Regions from separate parts of the Homo sapiens genome. Here region 2 is linked to region 1. Evidence: promoter capture Hi-C in 16 types of primary human blood cells and fetal thymus (Javierre and others, 2016). All regions are on one chromosome and are shown on one strand. The core of a region is centred on a gene start or on the middle of the fragment in contact, and the rest is flanking DNA. Distances in the headings are between cores, read along the strand shown.

Evidence for each region. Contacts are between HindIII fragments. The CHiCAGO score rates a contact against its expected background, and 5 or more counts as called.
Region 2: a contact is called between a fragment that was not itself captured here and the fragment with the promoter of GLDN in region 1, in 1 of 17 cell types (M1 macrophages). The highest score is 6.3, in M1 macrophages.

The regions. Positions count from the first base shown.
Region 1 is chr15:51,340,405-51,345,516 of GRCh38, reverse strand. It overlaps GLDN (gliomedin), which reads right to left and starts at 3,862. Exons shown (of 10, transcript NM_181789.4): 1 at 3,470-3,862. The coding sequence starts at 3,832. RefSeq lists cis regulatory regions at 4,681-4,705, 4,778-4,821 and an enhancer at 4,511-4,874. The HindIII fragment of the contact is 3,655 bases long and covers 2,347-5,112 here.
Region 2 is chr15:51,177,933-51,183,403 of GRCh38, reverse strand. All of the region lies in intron 1 of MIR4713HG (MIR4713 host gene), which reads right to left. Among named protein-coding and RNA genes, the nearest start is that of MIR4713, 62 kb to the left of the region's middle. The HindIII fragment of the contact is 535 bases long and covers 2,917-3,451 here.

The sequences.
Region 1 (5,112 bases), core at 2,613-5,112:
ATTTGACTATTATGGAATCATATTTGCCTTCCTTAAAAGAACATTTGAATTGTAACTCCTGCTTTAAAGTAGCCAGGCTGATTTTCTTGTTAGAGAGGTGCCAAGGACATTTTGAACAATATCCTGGGCGTAGAAATGCATACAGTCCCTCAAGGACAACAATTATCATGGATACGTAATCACCAGTCTCAGTGTCTTATATCTTCTCTATGTTTGTTTAATTTATGAAAATATTTATGAAACTCCCTCTGGGTGCTTGACCCTAGATTTTGGACAAGTAAAGACAGGATGATAAAGCTACCAGAACATCAGCAAATGTGAGACAGGAAGAGAGGAATGAGAGAGGGTAGCTGATGGGAAGAGAACAAAAAGAATATGAGAGGAGGTCAGAGAAAAAGAGAGTAAACAGAAGTAGCATCTCCCACAGGAGTTAGTAGCAGATGGGTCAAATTTTCTCTCTCCCCGCTCACCAGATCCCCATTTCCTTATTGGCCTAATTCAGTAGTTTCCAAGCCCCATCCAGGGCTCCTCTTATTACTGTCTCCCAAAAGTATGCACATGGTTTTAAAGATTTAATGTGCTTCTTGGCTGTGTCAAATTAACTGTACTTAATAATTATCTTGCCTTTTTAATGAAGTCATTTACAGCTGCCAACCAGGTTCTGGTAAGAATGTGCTCAGCTAAACAGAATTCTTATGCTGAGTTGATGTATTTTCAGCCAACAGTAGAGAAACTCAAAGTATCAGTTAAATTGAGGTTCATCTTGGATAAATGAACCATTCTGGAAGGCTTTTTGAAATGTTGACATTAGTCTGCATAGAGTTTGTTTCTTCGTTCCTAGACCTCTAAGGACATAAGACCTCACAGTGAGGACCTTGGATCTCACTCTCATTCAAGATCTGGTGGTGTATAAAAGGGCCAGGGAAGGTGTAGCCTTCACCTATAAGAAGTGTATACACTTGCCTCCACGATATATACTAGATCATTCTCTTAACTTCTCTCCAAGAGCTACCAAATGATGTTTTTTATAAAATTGTTTTCTTATATGAATAATTGTTCTGAGAAAAGCAGAGAGTAAAGATGAGGAAAACTGTGAAGCTGAATGGAAAGAATATTGCTGTCATAAATTAAAAAGCTTTTCAGTAATAAAATTGGCTCCTCGTCCTGAAGCAAAGGCCTTGATGGGGTCTGGTGGGAGTGTGATGCCTAACACAGCTACTATCGATAGGAAGTTATGCCAAGGTCCTTCCTGCTGGAGAATAAGCACTCCATCCCCAGGCTGTGGCCTAACAAATTAATTCAGAATCTCTGGGGATGGGATTCAGGCATCAGTAAGTTTGAAAGCTCCCCAAATAGTTCCAGTAGGCAACCTTACTACTCAAAATGTGGTCTTCAGGCCAGTAGCATTGGTAGCAGTGGGAGCTTGGTAGAAACGCAGAATCTTAGGCCCCAGCTTAGACCATCTGAATCAGAATCTGCATATTAACAAGATCCCCAAGATATTCCTGTGCACAATAAAGACTCAGTGTTAGAGACTGAGTAGTATTTCTTAAAGTGTGGTGCCTGGACCATCTGCACCGAACTCACCAATGGCATAGGAGGTGGGGGGATGAGGGTCAGAGGACTTCTAATAAAGCAGATTCTGGAGAGGATTCTATAGGTCTGAGGGAGAGGCCCTGGAATCTGCACTGTAATATGCTTCCAGCTGATTCCTAAGCCTACTGTTTGAGAACTGCTCCCAAGAGGAAAGTGAGTAGTAAGATGATTGCCTTCTCCTAGCCTCAGGGACAGGCCCTCATGACTCTAAAAGGTCAAAACATACCCATTGCAGGTGGGGGATGAGTTAGTTGATGATAATCTACTAATAATATCCAGTCTGACACATGTGATAGTTCTGCTCTCTGACCTGTAACAGAGTTAGTGGTAGCACTGCGAGGTCACCTAGAGTTAATTTGACACAGAGATGAGTGTCTCCATTCAATTTGTTAGTGACGGAATAGGTTGCAATTCGGATACGAAAGCTTCTACCTTAAAAGCAGGATTAAAAATGTAAAACAATGATGCTCAGATGTATCCCTTTTTGAGGATTTTTTAAAAGCCTTAAAATGTAGGGTAGAGAGCTGAAAGGGCGAGAATGAATTCCCCTAAGGAGGTTTTTTTCATCTTATAGCAGTCCTTTTTTGAAACTTCTGCTTAGGTCCAGATTTTTAAATGATAACATGAATTTAAAAAACAAATGAAGTGAGGAATGGAAAACTTGATCTCTCTCAAAAGATGTATTTGAAGTATGTAGTACTTTTACGTAGTTTTAAAAGCATTTCAGCTCATGTAAGTTATTTAAAAGCTTCTGTGATAACGGAAGTTTAAGTCAATTTATTTTCAAATACCTAGGATTCTGAAGTATGGCTCACACTTGACTGGAGGTAATAGCCGAAATCTTTCTAATTATAAAGTGAAACAAGACTGTTGCAATTGTAATAAATAATGAAATGGAATGGGGAACTGCAATGTGATCTAATAGTATTTGTTAAATACCTATTGAATTAAAAGCGGCAAAAGCAAAGAAACTTAACACTGGAAAACAAATCTTTGAGGCTTTGAAGACTTTCTTCAGAGCAGTGTTTCTTAAACCTTTTGGGGGAGGCATGCAATGGGGGACCCCTTGAAGATCTAGTGAAAAGCTGCAGACCCTCATCCACATGGGCAGGAGGGCACAGGCACACACACTTGGCAATTTCTGCAGTTCCGTGTACTCCCTGGAGCCCAGTGGGGAGACCAATCCGCAGGTCCCATGTTAAGAACCTCAGCTTTGACACTGCATTTTAAGAAAAAAATTGCACCATATTGACGTCCCTCATTTGGAATTGCTTGAGATCCAGGGGCAACTTTCCCAGCATCTAGGTCCCAGGTGGGCAGTAAAACTAGGGCTGTTTTCACTTAAACGGAAACAATTAGGCCGGCCATCTCGCAGGAATGAGGCGATGCCAGGTGAAAAGCCAGACCACTAGTTGATGCCAGGGAAAGAATCCCTTTATTGAAAAAGCCTACGCTCTTTCAGAAACGCGCCTCCATCCTCTCAGAGGGCCCCACCCACAGGTCAGTGGCACAGGCGGAGCCCCAAGGCTGCTGCGGCTCCATTCACACCAGGAGACGAAAACTTGTCTAAGCTGAGAAGGAAAATAGGCTCTTAGAAACACTGCCTTCGCCCTTCGTTTACATGTGGACTCAAAGAATGTCAGAGGTAGAAGAGACTCCCTCCTTCACCCTGTCCCCAACCTCACAGATGAGAAAACAGACTCCAGTGGGTTGAGGTGCTTGCCAAGGTGACATCCCCAGCTACTCATGCCCACAGCCCTCTCCGCAGCACCTCGCAGCCTGGCCAGGGGAGAAGAGGGCGTCGGCGTCCTCGCCCCACACCCCCAGCCGCCCACCTGGCCGGGGCGCCACGGGGAACAGAGACCCCGCCTACCGGCACCATGGAGTAGGTCATCATCATCAGCATGTCATGGCTCTCGGCGCGGATATGCGGCGCGGGCTCGCCGCTGTGGCTGCGCTTGTTGCGAGCTGAGCTGGCCGGGTCTTGGGGTGGTGCGGACGCCCCGCGCGGCGCGCGGCTCAACTCGGCCAGGAAGGAGCGCAGGGCACTGTCCTCGCGCTGCTCCCGGCCCCGCTGCGCCTCCAAAGCCCGCAGCGCCGAGCTCAGCCCGCGCCACTGGCACAGCGCGAACACCGTGCCCGCAGCGTTGAGCGCCGAGAGCAGCGCCACGGCCGCCAGGGCGCCACGCAGGCCCCAACCCGCGTCCCCACGGCCTCCCTCAGCGCCTCGGGCCATGCTCTATGCGCCTTGGGCAGGGCAGGGCTTGGCAGCCTGCGGCCCTGGCAGCCTTTATACGCCTCGGGCAAGCCGTGGGCTGGTGGCAGCGTCGTGAGTCAAGTCACCCTTTGGCCCAGCTGGCGGGGCGGGATGGGGACAGTAGTGGTGGCGCCCGAGCAGCCCAGAGGGACAGGCGGGCAGAAGCAGGAGAGGAGCCAGTGGAGGCAGCCTGCGGAGGAGGGGCTGGCAGGGCTCGTGCTCCCAGAGTCCCGCCAGCTGAGCAAACCCTCTCCTCCTCTTCCCACTGCTCTGCCTGAGGGCATTGCCGTGGCCCAGACAGGCAAAGCAAGGGTCAGACTGAGGGGGAGAGCAGGAATTCTTATGGAGAGAAGTCTCCGGATTCCACCCCCTTCTACCCCCACACTGCCCTCTTGGAGAAAAAGATCAGCATGCCCAGATGCTAAGGCACGTGCCCACTGTCCATGGGAGGTCTGGTCCTGGCCCGAGCACCAGGCTGCGCATCACTCCCCACCATGGCCATGAGGCTCCACGAGGCCACTGAAGACCCCAGATGATCTTTCCCAGGAAGGGGATGGATAGGGGCAAGGAGACACTTGGCACTGGAAGGCAAAAAAGGCCACCCATCAGAACCAGAAAAGCCCAGGACTGCCTGGCCAACAGGACTCGTCCTTGAAAGGAGAGTTCCAGGATTTGACAAGTCAGGAACTCTCCGATGAGATCCATATCTGGAAAATGGCAGGATGGTGAGGAAAAAAACCCCAGGAATCAGGAGACCTAGTTCTAAAGCCACTCTGTTGCTACTCAGCTGGGAGGCTTTGAGCATGTCCCAAGACCATGAGGAGGTGCTTTCTGGCCTAAGGGTTGGAGAGCTGGGCCATGGTTGGGTTCTTACCTAGCCCTAGGAAAACATGTTTTCCCATGCCTCTCATTTACTCCTCACAACTTTTATGTTGCCCAATACCTGCTCTGCCTCGAGGGTCACTGTCAACCAAATGCAGAGTCACTTTTGAGTCTCCTCAGAGAACCTCTTCACTCAAGATCTTTCTCAGCTTCTCCTAGAATGGCTCTGCTTCCCTGGGGCCCCAGGACCTATGGGAAACTAACGTAGACAGCAATCTTCAAGCCCCATGTTAAGAACCTCGGGTTTGACATTGTTTAAGAAAAAAAAAAAATCACTCTGTTTGGATGTCTCCCATTTGGGAGACCCAACCAGAAGGCAGGATTGCTGTTTCCATAGCCCAATAACTCAAGGAAGAGGTGCCTCCCCGCCAATGAGC
Region 2 (5,471 bases), core at 1,935-4,434, 160 kb after region 1:
CCCTTAAAGAAGGAGCAAGGGGAATCTGTGCAAAAGCCTAGTATAAATATATTACATCCTGGAAAAATAGACTATCGTAAAAGTCTACTTAACTGATGAACTCCACTCTGAACAAGCAAACCACACCCTTTATCAACAGCTTGTTAAGGTCCTTTTATTACTGCCATTACCTCGCCTGAAATAGCCCTCCCAGTCCATGGGAAGTAATGTCGTGGAAACAGCACTTATTCTGGAGCCAGACAGGACCGGGTTCAAGCCCTGGTTCACACTTACCAGTTGTGGATCTCTTTCCTAATTTGGAGAATGAGGATAATACTACCTACATTATGGAGATGTCATGAGGATTAAATGATGTAACTTCTAACCCCCAGGTTTTACAGCTTAGAAGCCTAACCATAGATGATTCTAGAAGACAACCTCCTTGCCAGGTCACAACCAAACCATAGCCAGCTGAATGAACGTAGGGAGCTGAGTGAGCATTTTTGGGCTCCAAGTCTGTAGCAGGGACCGTAAGGGTGGGAGGGATGTCAGTGGGAGGGGACTCATGATGTCTTAAGACCTAGATAAGGGGTGGGAGCAGAATGGGAGCCTTCCCCAAATCCATTTTCCCTTTCTTCCTCACCAACAAAAGCCTGGTACTCAGGGTTTCAATGTGACCAGAAGAAAAACTATATTCTGCAGCCTACCCTATAGATAAGGATGGCCACAGAACTAAATTCTGGCCAATAATATATAGGCATAAGCTACTGAATGAGGCATTTGGGAAAGCTCCTTAAAGAAACAGCAGATTCATCTGGGAAGCCCTTTTGCATTTCCTCCTTCCTTTGCTAATTGGAACTCAGACATGAGGACAGGAGCTGCTGAGGCCATCTTGGAAGCATGAGGCAACCCTAAGGATGAGAGCACAGAGAGATAAAAGGTGCCTGTGGTAGCGATCTCCACCTCCAGACTTATTTTATGTAGGAGAAAAATAAAGCCCTATCACTTGTTTCAGGCCTGTTATTAGGGGAGTTTGGTAGCCAGCCTCCAAGGTGGCTCCCAGTGGTCCTCACTGGGACCACTGGGAGGATTTGTGCTCTTGTATAGCCCTTCCACATGTTGAATAGAACTGACCTGTGTAACCAATAGGATATTAAGAAAATGACAATTTGTGATTTCTAGGTCATAAAAGACATGGTGGGTTCTGCCTTGCTTTCTCCTGGATCACTCACTCTAGGGGAAGGCAACTGCCAGGTCATGAGGACACGCAAGCAGCCCTACAGAAAAGTCCACATGGCCAAGAATCAAGGCCTCCTGCCAATAGTCAGCATCAACTTGCCAGCCCTGTGAATGAACACTTGGAAGCAGAGCCCCTGGCTCATGAAGCTCTCAGACAACTGAAACCCCAGTAACATCTTGAGCACAATCCCACTGGAGACCTTGAGTCAGAACCACCAAGTAAGCTGCTCCCAAACTTTTGATTCATAATAACTGTGTGAGATAATAAATGTTTATTGTTGTTTTAAGGCACTAAATTTATTATACAGTCATAAATAACTAATACATAGACATACTCAATTCCCAACTGATACGGAACCTAAAGAGGCAACTTGGAATGACCACACATGACACCCAAAAGACCTGCACTCTCCAACCTGCTGAAATCCCATCCAGAGAGGCACAGCTTCCCTCCTCCTCTCACTGCCTCCGTCTGGACATGTGGGAGACATGCAGCACCCTTCCTGTAGACTGCAGACACTGGTGCTAGCTGTAATCAAAGAAGTCAATCCATCCTATTCCACTTGAGGAGTGATCTCAGCCGGCTCTTTCTCCTCCCAACTTGCCCAGGTGCAGGAGTTCTCAGCCTCACACCACCTCACCCCTCACCACCCCAGCCCCACCATCTGTTATATAGTGGGCCTCCAGAGTTCTGGGCCATTGAAAGTGGGTTGTCCATGGGTGTCAGCTGGATGCTGAGCCAAGTTTGGGGGAACGGAGTCCCTGCAGCCAACTGCCTCTTGGCGGCAGTCCTCATTGGCCTCCTCAGTAGACAACTAGACATGTTAATTGAAACTGGTTCCCTTGTGATTTCTGGAACTAGAGAATTGAGCTGGAAACTCAAGTTATTTTCCCCAAAGTCATGAAAATTATTTCCAATATGAGGGGCTGGGAAATATGCTCATGTAATTCTTGAAAACTCTTCTTCTGTGTAAGAGACCTTTGAAGGTGAAACCAGAAATGTGCTGCTGCTTGTTTTCTGATTCTTTCCCCTCAAAGAAGATGCTAACTCTTCCCTAATTGCCATTAGAAAAGAGAAGAATTGTTCTCATTCCCTCCCTTCCATTGGCAGAGAGGAATGTCCACAAGATAGAAGGAAAAAAAAAAAAAGAGCACATGGTAGAGGTAGAGGAGAACATCAATTAAGAATACAAGTTGTATTAGTTGGAGTTCTCCAAAGAAACAGAATCAATAGGAGGGAGGATAGATAGATAGATTCTCAAATGAGATTTATTATAAGGAATTGGTTCACATGATGATAAAGACTAAGAAGTTCCATGGTCTGCCATCTGCAAGTTTTCCTCCTTACCCAGGAAAGCCAAGGGTGTAAACTTTAGTCAAAAGACCTGAGAACCAGCCACTCTGGTGGTGCAAGTCCCAGCCTAAGGGTAGGAGAAGACAAATGTGTCAGCTCAGCAGTTAGGCAAAGAGAAAGAATGCGACCTTCCTCTGCCATTCTGTTCTACTTAGGCCTTCAAGGGGTTGGATAAGGCCCACCCACCTTGGGAAGTATGATCTGCTTTATTCAGCCCACCAATTCAGATGTTACTCTCATCTGAAAACACTCTCAAAACACACCCAGAAATAATGTTTAACTGGCTATATGGGCATTCCAAGCCCTGTCAAGTTGACACCTAAAATTAACCATAAATAAAAGCTTATTTATGGAGCACATGCCACTCCTTGATCACACCTGATGCTCTGGGGACAAGGACCTCCGTACACATCCACACATCCAAAGATGTTTTCTCTTCCATCCTTTCTTCAATGCTTTTCTGCCCAGAATGGTCTTTTCTCAGTTTCATATGTGGCTAAGTCCTACTCCTACATTAAGACTCAGTTGGAGCCACCTCTCAGGATGTGTCAGGAGCCAGTGCTGCAGGCTCCCATGATCCCCATGCTCTCACCCACACCATGTTGTTCTCATAACCCTCTATGCACTGACCACCATGCTTACATCACTGACCTCTTAGGCCTCTACCCACCACATTACTCTGGGGATTTCTGGAGAACAGAACTTTCACTTCTGTCTTCCCAAAACCATCGTTTAGATTCTAGAACGGTGCCTAGCAAATAGTAGATGCTCAATAAACGTGTGGTGGGTGAGTAAATTGATTGGATAAATGAATAAATATGTAATATGCACTGCACAGTGGAACACCATCCCACCCACTCCATTTTATTTTTTTAAGCTTTAAACATTGCCCTCGAGAGAGATTTAGGGGCGGCTCCCTGGCCCGATAATTTCCCACTCTTAAAACTGGTCCTTAAACCACCACACTCAGGAGCAAGAATTCCAGACTACTTCATTTTTCTAACTCAGAATAATCCAGCTTTGACGACTCTCCGGAGTGGTGAGAAACTCAATCTCAGTCACATTTGGGGGTGTCAAAGTATAATTTCAAAATGCTAAAAATGTAACTTTCATATAAATATATAAGGAGCATGTGTCAAAAGATTTACATAATTCATTAATGAGAGAAGGCAGGATGAAAAAAACTGGCTCAAAGGATGACACAAGGAAATGATATATATAGAGAGTCAGTGATAAAAAGAGAACAGGGGAATGAGATTGCTAAATTAGATATGAAACTAGTTAATGCCCTACATAGCAATAAAACCATCACTCTTGGGGTTCCCTCCTCTACCAGACAGAAGCATTTTCACTTCAACCAGGCAAAAATCATTCACCTCCCTTCCATTTTTCTGCAAGCTAGCATCTAATGCTATAAATTTTGAACCTTAATGACTATAAATAGGAAGCTCAAAAAAGTTACCTTCCCCTAGAGAAGAAAAGTGAACTCTATACGGGAAACAATTCTACCTATAAAAAGGTTAAATGAGAAAGAGTTAAGTTGGGGATTTAGACATTTAAGACAGATGTGAAAACAAGACTAAATGATATTTAGTCACAATGTGTATATGCAGCAGGGGAGCACATGCAGGGCAGTGTGACCTAGTGAAGAAAGGACAATAAAGAGAGATTGTAACAGTGACGCTAGAGCCAACGTGTACATAAACAAGAGAAGGCGCAAGAGAGCTGGTGTTTTCAGACAGTGATCTGATGAAAAGACCAACAACTTATATTGGGCAAATATCCAACATGTGCCTTGATAAAATATTTATTATTATTATTATTTTTTTTTTAATTATACTTTAAGTTTTAGGGTACATGTGCACGTTGTGCAGGTTAGTTACATATGTATACATGTGCCATGCTGGTGCGCTGCACCCACTAACTCGTCATCTAGCATTAGGTATATCTCCCAATGCTATCCCTCCCCCCTCCCCCCTCCCCACCACAGTCCCCAGAGTGTGATATTCCCCTTCCTGTGTCCATGTGATCTCATTGTTCAATTCCCACCTATGAGTGAGAATATGCGGTATTTGGTTTTTTGTTCTTGCGATAGTTTACTGAGAATGATGGTTTCCAATTTCATCCATGTCCCTACAAAGGACATGAACTCATCATTTTTTATGGCTGCATAGTATTCCATGGTGTATATGTGCCACATTTTCTTGATCCAGTCTATCATTGTTGGACATTTGGGTTGGTTCCAAGTCTTTGCTATTGTGAATAATGCCGCAATAAACATACGTGTGCATGTGTCTTTATAGCAGCATGATTTATAGTCCTTTGGGTATATACCCAGTAATGGGATGGCTGGGTCAAATGGTATTTCTAGTTCTAGATCCCTGAGGAATCGCCACACTGACTTCCACAATGGTTGAACTAGTTTACAGTCCCACCAACAGTGTAAAAGTGTTCCTATTTCTCCACATCCTCTCCAGCACCTGTTGTTTCCTGACTTTTCAATGATTGCCATTCTAACTGGTGTGAGATGGTATCTCATAGTGGTTTTGATTTGCATTTCTCTGATGGCCAGTGATGATGAGCATTTTTTCATGTGTTTTTTGGCTGCATAAATGTCTTCTTTTGAGAAGTGTCTGTTCATGTCCCTCGCCCACTTTTTGATGGGGTTGTTTGTTTTTTTCTTGTAAATTTGTTTGAGTTCATTGTAGATTCTGGATATTAGCCCTTTGTCAGATGAGTAGGTTGCGAAAATTTTCTCCCATGTTGTAGGTTGCCTGTTCACTCTGATGGTAGTTTCCCCCGCTGTGCAGAAGCTCTTTAGTTTAATTAGATCCCATTTGTCAATTTTGGCTTTGGTTGCCATTGCTTTTGGAGTTTTGGACATGAAGTCCTTGCCCAC